Regions from separate parts of the Homo sapiens genome. Here regions 2 and 3 are each linked to region 1. The links are contacts of gene promoters, found by promoter capture Hi-C in human tissues and cell types (Jung and others, 2019). All regions are on one chromosome and are shown on one strand. The core of a region is centred on a gene start or on the middle of the fragment in contact, and the rest is flanking DNA. Distances in the headings are between cores, read along the strand shown.

Evidence for each region. Contacts are between HindIII fragments. The study calls those that stand out against the background at their distance.
Region 2: the fragment with the promoter of SEC14L5 here is called in contact with the fragment with the promoter of GLIS2 in region 1 in 1 of the 25 tissues and cell types used here (lymphoblastoid cells).
Region 3: a fragment that was not itself captured here is called in contact with the fragment with the promoter of GLIS2 in region 1 in 1 of the 25 tissues and cell types used here (dorsolateral prefrontal cortex).

What each region holds. Positions count from the first base shown.
Region 1 is chr16:4,314,213-4,318,184 of GRCh38, reverse strand. It overlaps GLIS2 (GLIS family zinc finger 2), which reads right to left and starts at 2,118. Exons shown (of 7, transcript NM_032575.3): 1 at 1,931-2,118. RefSeq lists enhancers at 1-205, 206-856, 2,978-3,490, 3,491-3,972 and a silencer at 3,283-3,577. The HindIII fragment of the contact is 26,266 bases long and covers 1-3,972 here.
Region 2 is chr16:4,956,206-4,960,177 of GRCh38, reverse strand. SEC14L5 (SEC14 like lipid binding 5) reads right to left here and starts at 1,848. Exons shown (of 16, transcript NM_014692.2): 1 at 1,733-1,848; 2 at 792-905. The coding sequence starts at 854. RefSeq lists an enhancer at 1,321-1,856 and silencers at 1,660-1,955, 1,754-1,963. The HindIII fragment of the contact is 18,853 bases long and covers 1-3,972 here.
Region 3 is chr16:3,795,393-3,799,364 of GRCh38, reverse strand. The region is part of intron 3 of CREBBP (CREB binding lysine acetyltransferase); the gene reads left to right. Among named protein-coding and RNA genes, the nearest start is that of TRAP1, 80 kb to the right of the region's middle. The HindIII fragment of the contact is 6,810 bases long and covers 1-3,972 here.

The DNA.
Region 1 (3,972 bases), core at 869-3,368:
ACCCTCCAAGCTGTGACTGGGCTCCAGCCAATCCCCAGAAGCCACTGACCCCAAAAGCAGCGGTGCCTGGAAGTGGGGTGACTCACTGTCTGGCTTCCCAGGGCACCCCCTCCCCATTGGTGAGGGAGGGACTGGCAGGTGTCCCTGTGTAGAGAGCCAGGAGCAAGGAGAGAACTCCCCAGGGGGCCTGGGCCAGGGTCACTCAGGGGCCGAAGAGCCCCAGCTGGAGGGATTTAACACCAAAGGTCAAAGGTCACAGACAGGGAAGGGCGGGCAGGCACAGGGGGTCAGCGCTAATGGCAGCTCCGGAAAGGAGGGGGAGGAGGAAAGGCTAAGAAAAACAGGGTTGCTTCCAAGGGGTCCGCACACCCCCCAAAACACCATCCCAAGTCCCTGGCACTGTCTCCTGCTTGGCTGGCTGCAGACAGGGCCAAGTTGAGCTGGAGGTGGGCAGTGAAATGGGCCAGGCTGGAGCTTGGCAAAGGGTGTCCTGGGAGGGGCCTCCCAGGTGCAGCCCCTCCCCCTGTGCAGGCCAGGCCAGCTAGGAGGCCCAGCCTGGGCTCTGGGGAGAAGGAGAAGCAGAGGGGGAGGTCCGAGGTCACCCGGGATGGGTGTGTGGGCTGGGCCTGGACAGCTGTGGCACTGTGGCACCAGAATGGGGCTTGGGGAGGGGTGACCCAAGGGGCCAGTTTCCCCTCCCCTGAGCCCGGGGGCTGGAAGGCCCTCCGAAGCGCAGTGTCTCTGGGCTTCCTCCCCAGCCGCAGGCTGGCCCCACCTTCCCTCCAGGATGCCAGGACACGCAGGATGGCGGCCTACTACCCAGGGTGCCAGCCTCCAAGAACCATGGCCCAGGCCCTTTCCATGGCCCAGACCAAGCCCAGGCCTTGGCCAGGTCCCCAGCCGGCCTGGCTGCCCCCTCAGTGTCAAGCGTTCCCTCCAGAGCCAAGATCCTGGGCTGTGATGGCTGGGGGCCCAGGGCCCCTCCCAGCATCCCTTCCAGCTTCCCAGGCCCCAGGGCAGGGCTGGGCAACTCCTTGAAACCATTGCTTCCCGGCCACCCTCTGGCCAGGCTGGGCGGGCCCTCCTGGACAGGCAGACAGGCTGCACGCTGCCCTGCTGTGGCCCGAGTACCCTGCTGGGCAGGGCAGCATGCCAAGGCCTCCAGGTGCCAGCCTGGATTCCAGCCCCATCCCAGGGGGCCAGCGGGGAAGCTGTGCGTGCTTCTCCTCCCTCGGGATGCACCTGCCTCGCCCCCTCCTCCACCCGCTCCAGACCCGCCCTCCGGCGAGTATGGACCCCTTGCCATCTCCTCCCTGCCAGGCCGGTCGCCTGCGTCCACCCGGACCGCAGGGGAGTAACAAGTGCCTGACTTGTCCCAAACTCCCAGTCCTGACCCCCCAGGGACGCCCCTTCCCGAGGTCCAAGGAAGGACCCGGGCTTGCGAGGGGCAGCAGGAGGGAGACTCTCCCGGCCAAGGGAGGAGGCACCTTCCAAAGCCCTTCCTAGCAGCAGCCCCGGCGCGGCCGAGAGGAGGGGCGGCTGCCCCGGACAACTTCATGCCCAGGCTCCGGGTACCCCCCTCTCACCTCGCCGCACGCCCCCCACCGCGGCCGCCCAACTTCCCAGCTGAAGTTTGCGCCCGCCCCGGGCCCGGGCGCTGCTCGGCCCGGCCTCCAGACGGAGGGAAGGAAGGAGGGAGAAGAAAGACCGAGAGCTCGAGGGACCCGGCCGGGGAGCCGGCGAGGGAGGGAGCGCGCGAGCCAGCGAGCGAGCGAACGCGGGGGCCTCGGCGAGGGCTCACAATGGCCCGGGGCGCGGACGCGAGCGGGGGAGGAGACCCTCGGGCCCCGCAGCCCCGGCGCGACAGGCGGGCCCCCCCCCCCCCGCCCCGGCCCGGTCCCCACGGCGCGACGCCCGGGGGGCTTCCTACCTCAGCGGCGGGGGCGGTCGGGATCCGGGCTGCGGGCTCCGGCGGTCGGGGGGCGCGGGGAGCCGAGCGGGGGAGGGGCCGGGACGGGCGGGGGCCGGGGCGCGAGGCCTCACGGGGCGCGGGCTCCCCTGGCACGGCCGCCCGGCGCCCGGCCGCTCCGCCACATCTGCAGCTCGGGCAGGGAAGGTGGCCGCGGCGGCCGGGCCGTGCGGGGATGTCTTAGAGGGAGGGCGGGCGGGCGGGAGGAGGGAGGAGGGAGGCGGCGGGAGGAGGGCCCGCCGGCCGCGGAGGAGGGCGAGGAGGAGGGGCGCGGGGGGCGGCCTCCACCCCTCCCCTCGCTCGCTCGCTCCCTCCCTCCCAGCAAAACCCCTCTCACCGCTGCGGCCCCAGGCCCGGGGCGCCAGCTGCCAGGCGGGGCGTGCGCGTCGGGGGAGGGGGCGGCGGGAGCCGGCGCTGGGCCGAGGGAGGGGGAAGGGAGGGCGGCGCGGCCGCGGGGAGCGGGCACCGGGAGGGAGGGGTGAGGGAGGGAAGTGGGGCGCCGAGCCGCGCGCGTCCTCCTCGGCCCCATCCTCACGCCACCCCCCCCCCGCGGCCCCGCCCCCGGCCCGAGGGCAGCGCTAGGACACGGCCGGGAGGTGGCCTGGGGGGGCGGGGGAGCCCGAGACGTCCCGCCCTCGGGGAAGCCCGAGGAGGGGGCCGGGCGCGCGGGCCCAGAGGAAAAGCCCCGCAGACCGGGAAGATGGAGGAGGTCGCGGCGGCGGAGCGGGCGGGGACCCCTCGCCTCCTCCCGCGGGGTCACCTTGGCCAGGCCCCCCTGCGGCCCCGGGCGGCGGGGAAGGCGGCAGGAATGCCTCTCTGCGGGCCCTGATTTCTCCGCCCAGCCCAGTTCCAGGAACGCGCAGGCAGCGCCCGGCGGGCAGAGGTCCCGGATCCCGATGCCGGGCGGCGCAAACCAGTTTTCGGGGCCCGGCGCAACCCCTCACGCTGGTGAGACGGCGGGCGACTCCCTGCCGTGCCCTCGGTCTCAGTTTCCCTCACGGTAGAATAACGACGAGGCCCGATGCCGAGCAATCCGAGCTTCCGCTTGGTTCCTAGCTTGGTCCCAGCATTTGGGACCACCTGCGTCCACTAGCCCGAGCGCCGCGGGAGGTCTAGATCCCTCCTGGACATCAGCACCCTGCGCGGCGCCCGCGGCCAGGGCAGCGAGTGCAGTGAGCGGATACACGCGAGGGAGAAGCCCCGCACCCGGCCCAGCTGTTTTCTGCCTCGTGTTGAACCACAGACTCGCGTTCTTGAGTGTGTTTTGTTTGGGCTAATCCCGTGCCCCCCGCCCTGTTATCTTCTTGCTGCTCTGCTGTATGCTGGCAAATTGTAGTTCAAAAAAACAGCCCTCCTGCTGTTGGACACCCCCTCTTCCCAGCGCAGTTGGCCTTGAGGAGCCTAGGAGACGAAAAAGGCATCCCAGAATCAGCATCCCCTAGAGGTGAGGCATCTGACGCTGGTTTTAAGTCCGTCTTCATTCGTGCATTTGATGCTGCGGTCCCCGCCAGAGCCCGAAGCACGTGGCTCTTGATCACAAGGCATCCATGGCAGGCACAAGGCTTGGCACATAGTAGGTGCTCCTGGGCTGGTGCCCAGATGGACACATAGCAGGTGCTCATGGGTTATGTGGACACACAATCGATGCTCATTGCATTTTAAGAGAATGCACACATAGTAGGTGCTCATGGGCTGGTGCCCAGATGGACACATAGCAGGTGCTCATGGGTTATGTGGACACACAATCGATGCTCATTGCATTTTAAGAGAATGCACACATAGTAGGTGCTCAGGACGTTGTGGGTGAATGCACACATAGTAGGTGTGGACTCGTAATGGATGCTCATGTTTTGGTCTAATGAACACATATTAGGTGCTCATGACCTGTTGTGGAAATGGGCACATAGTAGGTGCGCAGGAGCTGTAGGTTGATACCTGGAAGGGATGTAGGAAGGCCGTTTGCCTGGAGCAAAGGCTCGGAAGTTGGCGATTTGGAGGTGACC
Region 2 (3,972 bases), core at 599-3,098, 640 kb before region 1:
GGATGCAGCCAAGAAGGAATTCCACATCCACCTATGTCCAGCTTCTGCCCCCAGGGTGAAAAGACCAGTGATCCTGGGGGCCAAGGATCTGGCAGCCAATTCTAGGCCTCCAACTGACTTGCTGCACAACACAGAGTACATCACAAAGCAAACCTACCCACTCATTCTCTCTCTCGTCCCAGTGTCAGCTTCCTTAAAGGGGAGGGAAGGGGGTCTGTGAGCAGAAGGAGGGCTCTGTGGTCAAATGTGAGGTTCTAGAGTCTCCTTTGTGGGGATCTCAGCCCCGACTCCACCTCTGCGTAGATACAGAACTTAGTGTCATCCCTTCACCTGTCAAAGCCTCAGTTTCATGGAGGTTACATGGGAAAATAACAGCTATCGGGAATTGGAAGAAACATCATCTGTTAAGACAGTGCTGTAAACATTCAATAAACAGCTGTTGTCATTATCACCACCATTCCATTTATCACTGTGATATGCCATTATATGAAATGACAGCAGTGGCTTGGCCCCTGATACCTTTGTTTTCTATCAGGAGAGTCTAAAGTAAGGGAGCAGGTCAGCTTCAACAAGGAGAAGGAAGAAAGACTTTGTGTTTTGGTCACTGGGCCGAGGATAGGATGGTTGGACAGAGAGGTCACTGGATAGAAGTTAAACCCACCAGGTCAGCTGAGTAACTCACTAATTCCTTCTGATCTGGGAGTCTAAGGAGCTCCGTCTTCCTACCGCCATAGCTGATCTCAAGCCCCTCCAACTGTCACATGGGGGCCCAAGAATCAGGAGTCACTCACCGCCATGACCAGCTCAAACGGGTACTTGTAGACTCGGACAGGAGACTGGTATCTTTGCACCATGTTCACGCTGGAGCACCAATGGAGGTCACCAGGCAGGGGTGTGCACAGAGCCTGGGGCGAGGAGTGACTGGTGAGGTTGCAGCTCCCACCTCGGGAAGCAGGGACACCACCCACCAAGTGTAAGGGGCAGCCCCTGGCCCCACCCACACAGCTCCCCAGCCTTCAAATTGAGAAGGCTGATATTCCCCCCAAATTACTCCAGGCCAAGCCCCAACAGCTTCCCTGTCATTAGCCATGGCCCCAGACCACGCTCAGCCTTCCAAGAGCAGTCAGCACCCCCAAACTTTCCTCTACCCCCACCCCTTCACACTGAGGGCCCCCAGAAGCCTTACGGCCACCCACACAGACACACACACATTTGCAATTCTTACACTCCCACGGTTCTATTCACGCATGCACCCCGCAGCTTGCCACAGACTTGCTGGCCTACAGCCCACCCCCGAGTCTCCTTGCACCTGCCCTCCCATTTTCCTCCCAGACACCCTGACATACACACACAGCCTTCACCACATTTCACAGGCACTGTCTCTATCACACACATGTACACACGCAGGTTTCCCTCCCACACGGGACTGCTTTTGCACACGCCTCCAACTTTGCACACACACCCTGAAACACGCACCTGCCCAGCTCCACGCACGCAATTCCCCTGGTGTGCACAGACGTGCACACACGCACACACACCCGTGCGCACATGCACACACACGTACACACACGTAGAGGCAATCGCACACGCATGCACACACAGGTCCCCGCAGCTTTGCTCACCCTCGCCCTCGGGAGCCTTTGGGAATGCAGCCTAGGGGAAGTGCCCTGGAAGCCCGCCTGGCTCGGGAGCTGAGCGCTTACCCGCGCCCGCCTGGCCTGGAGCGCAGTACCTGAGGCGGGGCCCGATCGCGGATCTCTAGCCTGGTGTGTCCCGCCTTGAACACCCTGCGGCCAGGACAGCTGTGGAAGGCCGGAGGGGCGGGAGCGAAACCTGCCGGGCCGAGAGAGCTCCAGGACCCGGGACAGCGGAGATCCTGGCCTGGCCCCGCCCCTGACCTGGTCCCGCCCACGTCCCCGGCCATGGCCCCGCCCAGGTTGGCCCTGCCCCCTAACTGGTCCCGCCCCACTCTGGCCCCGCCCCAGGCGAACTCCCCCTGGTTCTAGCCCCGCCCCTTATTTTTAGATGTCGCTTGTTTGACCACGCCCTCAGCCCAGTCCTTTCTCTAGATTGGTCACACCTCAGGAAGTCCCCTCCCCCTTCACTGGCCCCGCCCTCCAAGGCCCTCAGCCTCGGGGAATGGTAGGCCACAGGACGACCCCGCCCTAATCTAGCTCTGCCTCCAAGCAGACCCTGAGTCCGGGCCGACCCGCCCCGGACCCTGCGTCTGGCCGACAGTACTGTTTACATTTGTAGATAAGCAGAATTTACGCTTTTCTTGCTCAGATTAACCTCGCCCTCGTCCCGCTGCACTTGGGTCTGACTGGCTCCTCCACCTGTCCCCGCCCCACGGCCCGCGCATGCACCTTCGCCCACTCTGCACACCTTCACAGAGCGCCTGCTGGGGGTCAGCCCTGTCCAGGCGCTGGAGAGCCGCCGGTGAGCCACACGCACGAATCCCTGCCCTCGTGGAGTTTATACTACGGTGGGGAGACAGACACTCAATAAATAAGGCAAATATATGATGTGTGAGGTAGTGAAAAACTCTAACGAGAGAAAAATAAGCAGGAAAGGGGCTCAAGGAGCCAGCGGAGAGAAAGGACAATTTAAAACAGGTAAGAGGCCGGGCGCCATGTCTCACGCCTGTAATCCAAACACTTTAGGAGGCGGAAGCGGGAGGACCGCTTGAACCCAGGAGTTGGAGACCACCCTGGGTAACATAGCAAGAACCTATCTCTACAAAAAAATTTTTTTTTAGTTTAGGCAGGGCGCGGTGGCTCACGCCTGTAATCCCAGCACACTGAGAGGCCAAGGCAGGCAGATCAGCTGAGGTCAGGAGTTCGAGAACAGCATGGCCAATATGAGGAAACCCCGTCTCTACTAAAATACAAAATTAGCCGGGCATGGTGGCGTATACCTGTAATCTCAGCTACTCGGGAGGCTGAGGCAGGAGAATCGCTTGAATCAAGGAGGCGGAGGTTGCAGTGAGCCGAGACTGCGCCACTGCACTCCAGCCTGGGCAAGAAGAACAAAGCTCCGTCGCAAAAAAAAAAAAAAAAAATTAGCCAGGCGTGTTGGCACGTGCCTGTGGTCCCAGCTACTCAAGAGGCTGAGGCAGGAGGATCCCTTGAGCCCAGAAGTTCAAAGCTGCAGTGAGCTGTTACCTGGCCACTGCACTCCAGCCTGGGCAACAAAGCAAGACTCGGTCTCAAAATAAATAAGTAAATAAATAAATAAAACAGGGAGTAAGGGGGCCTCCCTTGGGAGAGTGACATTTGTCCATCACTCTCATTTTAACTCACACTTAACCCCTTTCAGCCCTCCCAGGACTCCCAGGGGACCAACCTTGCTCCCAGAAGTCCTGCCTTGCCACTCCTCATCTGTTTAGCCTACAAGACCCAAGAAATTGGCTCTGGACAGTGCTGTCATCCATGTATTCACTCATTCAACATTTACTGAGCACCTACTACGTGCCACCGTGGGGTGAATTCACCCCTTCAAGCAGGGGAAGTCAGAGGTGGCCAGGGAGATGGACAACCCCTGATATATTTCAAGTATGTCACTGCACCCTGTGAAAATCACCTCTCTTCCCTTCCTAGCCTGCATCACATTCTAATATTGCATTTATTCGTTTTATATATCTGTGGGTTCCTGGAGGTCTCTCTCAGGAGACTGTGAGCTCCCTGAGGGCAGGGGCAGTGGCTGCCTTATTCAGCTGCCCGCATGTTGGGAAGGATCTTACTGGGGACCTGGCAGGCAGGCAGCAGGTGCCCAGCAGACTCTTGGCTTAGGTAATCAAGGGCGGAAATGGGACACAAAGTTCCCATCCCTGTCGCAAGGTGGCAGCAAATGATAGCCCATGGCTCCTGGAGTAACACAAGGGTGAGTAGGTGGGGGACATGGGATCCAGGGATGACTGTCCTAACCCGGGCTCATCCAGGAAATGCCCAGCTCTGCCCAGGCATCGCCACA
Region 3 (3,972 bases), core at 911-3,410, 520 kb after region 1:
CCTTTAGTGATTAGTAAGAACTTTTTAAAAACAGCTTTTTAAGATATAATTCATGTACCATATAGTCCTTGCTTCAAGTGTACAGTTGAGTGGTATTTAGTATATTGTGTAACCATCACCACAGTCAATTCTGAAACATTTTCACCACTCCAAAGAGAAACCTAGTACCATTAGCAGTTATTCCCCATTTCCCCTGAACCCCCATCTCCAGCCAACCGCTAGTCTTTCTACCCCCATGGATGTATCTATTCTGGGCATTTCCTAGAAATTGAATCACAGAATATGTGGTCTTTTGTGACTGGCTTCTTTTACGAAGCATGTTTTCGGAGTTCATGTTGTAGTATGTGTGGTTACTTCCCTTTTTACGGTTGAATAATATTCCGTTTTGGTTATACACCGTGTTTTGTTTTTCCCTTCATCACTTGATGGGCATTTGAATTGTATCCACTTTTTGGCTATTTGTAAAAGGCTGTTGTGAACATTTTTTACAGTTTTCGTGTGAACGTGCATTTTCAGTTCTTTTGGTTGTATACCTAAAATAGGAATTGCAGAGGTCATGTGGTAATTTTATGTTTGACCTTTTGAGGAATTGCCAGACTGTTTTCCAGAGTGGCTGCTGCCTTCTACATTCCCACACCAATGTATGAGGATTCCAGGTTCTCCACGTCCTGGCCACCCTGTTGCTATTGGTTAGCATTTGACTTTTTATTATAGCCATGTGGTGGGTGTGAAGTGGTATCTCACTGTGGTCTTAACTTGCATTTCCCTAATGGCTAATAAGGTTCAACATCTTTTCATGTGCTTATTGGCCATTCGTGTATCTTCTTTGCATAAATAACTGTTCAGAGCTTTCACTTATTTTTTAATTGGGCTATTAGTCTTTTTATTACTGAGTTGTAAGAGTTTTTAAAATATGTTCTAGATGCAAGTGCTTTATCAGACCTATGATTTGCAAATATTTTCTCTTTCACTTTCCACTTTCACAGTTCATTATTTTGTAATGGTATCCTTTGAAGCATAAAAGTTTAATTTTTTATGAAATCAGTTTATTTTTCTTTTATCACTTGCACTTTTGGTGACGTAGTAAGAAACTGCCTAATCCAAGGTCGTGAAGATTTATTCTCGGTTTTCTTCTGTGAATGGTACGATTGTCACTCTTACGTTGAAGTGTTTGCTCCACCTTGAGTTCATTTTTGAGTGGGAGGTAGAGAGGAGGCTGCCTGCATCCTTCTGCCTGGGCTGTCCAGTGCCTGTGCTCCTCCTCATTGTCATTGAGAAACGATCCCTCCCTCCCTTGTGTTGCCTCAGCACCAAGGTGTAGAACATTTTTGTATTTGTCGTTTCTTTGTGTTTTGTGAGGTGTCTGCATTTTCTTTGCCCAATTTTTTAGTGGGATAGTATCCTTTCTTTCCTGAGAGCATTTGCATAAAAGATCAACCAATTTGCTCGCAGTTTTTCACTTTTTAAACTCCATTATGTGTTTATGTTAAGAAGGCTTTCTCATCCTCATGTCCTAAAAGTTTTTAAATTTTTTTCTCCATTTTAAGCCATTTTTATTCACTTTAGTTCATGTGAATTTTTTTTTTTTTAAATAAAAGGGAAGATAAGGATCAAAGATGCCTCACCACTCTTGAATGTAAAGCACCACCTTTAGGAGACAATCGTCCTCTCTTATCTGGGGTTTCACTTTCTGGGGTTTCACTTACCAGCAATCACAAAATAAGTGAGTGCAGTACAATAAGGTGTTTAGAGAGAGAGAGAGAGAGACCACATTCATGTAGCTTTTATTACAGTGTATTGTTAGTAATGGTTCTATTTCATTATTAGTTAATGTTAATCTCTTACTATACCTAATTTATAAATTAAACTTTATCATAGGTGTGTGTATAGGAAATAATACAGTATATATAGGATTCAGTACTATCTGAAGTTTCAGGCATCCACTGGGAGTTGGAACCTGAACTCTGAGGATAAGGGGGGACTTCTATATGCTAATTTGATATACACCTATGTCTGTTTCTGGACTTAAGTAAAGAAATTAGCTTTATAGTATGTTTCAGTATCTGGCAATATAGATTGCCCCTTTATTTTTACTGTTTTTCAAAATTTTCTTGGCTCTTAGAAAAACAAAATCACACAAAACGTAGATTACTTTTGGGGCAGCTTCCACCACGATGGCTTTGTTCTGTGCTTTAAAGGGAGGTTCCGAAGTACTCTCCCTCCATCCTCAGTGCCTGCCTGCCAGTGGGAACTGGGCAGGGAGGTTGGGAAAGTCTGAAGGATGCTTCTGACAGATTTGGGGGCCACCTGCAGTTCACATCTAACTCTCATGGCTCATTGAACACCAGCCTGGGAGAGGAGGAAATTAAGTGTGCCCCTGTATTTGTAAGTACTTTGCAAAACTAAGCTAGTCCCAGACAAATATACAGAATTCCATGGGGAAAGACAGAGACAGGGACATAAGACATTTTCCATTCCACTGTTGATTCACCCTCAGAATGGCTTTTGAGATGCATGTTGTAAACAATATGTAGAGCTCATTAAACTGTGCATTTGTCCTCCATCCAGAGGTAGACAAATAACAGAACAAATTTTAAATTTGCCATATAGTTTCCAACCATCCTGTTTTGACATATGGTCAGGTGTAGTGCAAAAGACACTATTAAAAATACATGCCAGGCTGGGCGTGGTGGCTCATGCCTGTAATCTCAGCACTTTGGGAGGCTGAGGTGTGCCGGTCTCTTTAGGTCAGGAGTTCAAGACCAGCTTGGCCAACATGGTGAAACCCCATCTCTACTAAAAATACAAAAAGTAGCCAGGCGTGGTGGTGGGCATCTGTAATCCCAGCTACTTGGGAGGCTGAGGCAGGAGAATCGCTTGAACCCAGGAGGCAGAGGTTGCAGTAAGCTGAGGTGGCGCCACTGCACTCCAGCTTAGGCGATAGAGTGAGACTCCCGTCTCAAAAAAAAAAAAAAAAGTACAAGCCAGTTAGGTGGCACCACACATCTGTGATCCCAGCTACATGGGAGGCTGAGGTGGGAAGATCAGTTGAGCCCAGGAGGCCAGCCTGGGCAACATAGCAAGACCTTGTCTCTGAAATTTTAAAAAAAGAATATTTTTAAGTCCCAAATGAAATCAGTGTGTTAATTGTTGGTGAATTAAGAACAGTCTGGTTATAATTTACTTGTAGAGCTAAATTTTTTGCCTAATTTTTATATAATTTTTTTGGTATGTGATATTTCTGTACTTTAAGACACAGTGAGAGGACAACTGTGTGGTCTCTTCAACAAGGTAGTGTCAGGAGTAAAAAAAGGGAAGATACAATAGATTAAGAACCTTAAAAACAACCAAATACAGGATGTGGGCCTTCTTGGGGTCCTGATTTGTGAACACCAGCTCTAAAAGACATGTTTTGGACAACCAGAGAAATTGGGATATGACTCAGTATTAGCTGATGCCCAAGAAGGATGGTTCTTTTTCTTAGGTGTAAGGATGATATCCTTTCCTTTCCATTTTTCTGTATGTTTGAAATTTTCATAAACGTAAAAGAAAGAGTCCTAAATGAGGCTCATTTTGTGTTTCTCCCATTCCTCCATATCTCCATTCCTGTTGATTTCTCGATGGACCTTCCAATCCACAGGGATAAGCCAGTTGAGCAGTGGACTTAACACCAGTACTGCATGCTTGCAGGGGCAGCTCAAGGCCTGTTTGCTTACTGAAGCTTTATTTACAGTTATAAAAAATAAAGGAGGGGCCAGGGATTCCAGTTTATGCCCCATAACAAGAACTAGTTAAATGAGTATAAAGTTAAAAGAGTAACATGCTGTTCATTACAAGTCATTCCAGCCCACTATCTGAGACAGTTTAGTGGTATGGGGCAGAACATGGAAAAAACACTAAGCAAAACATGTGTGTTGCAGGGGAGATACGAGGCTCTATTGATTATGGTTCATACGTAAACATTTATATAGA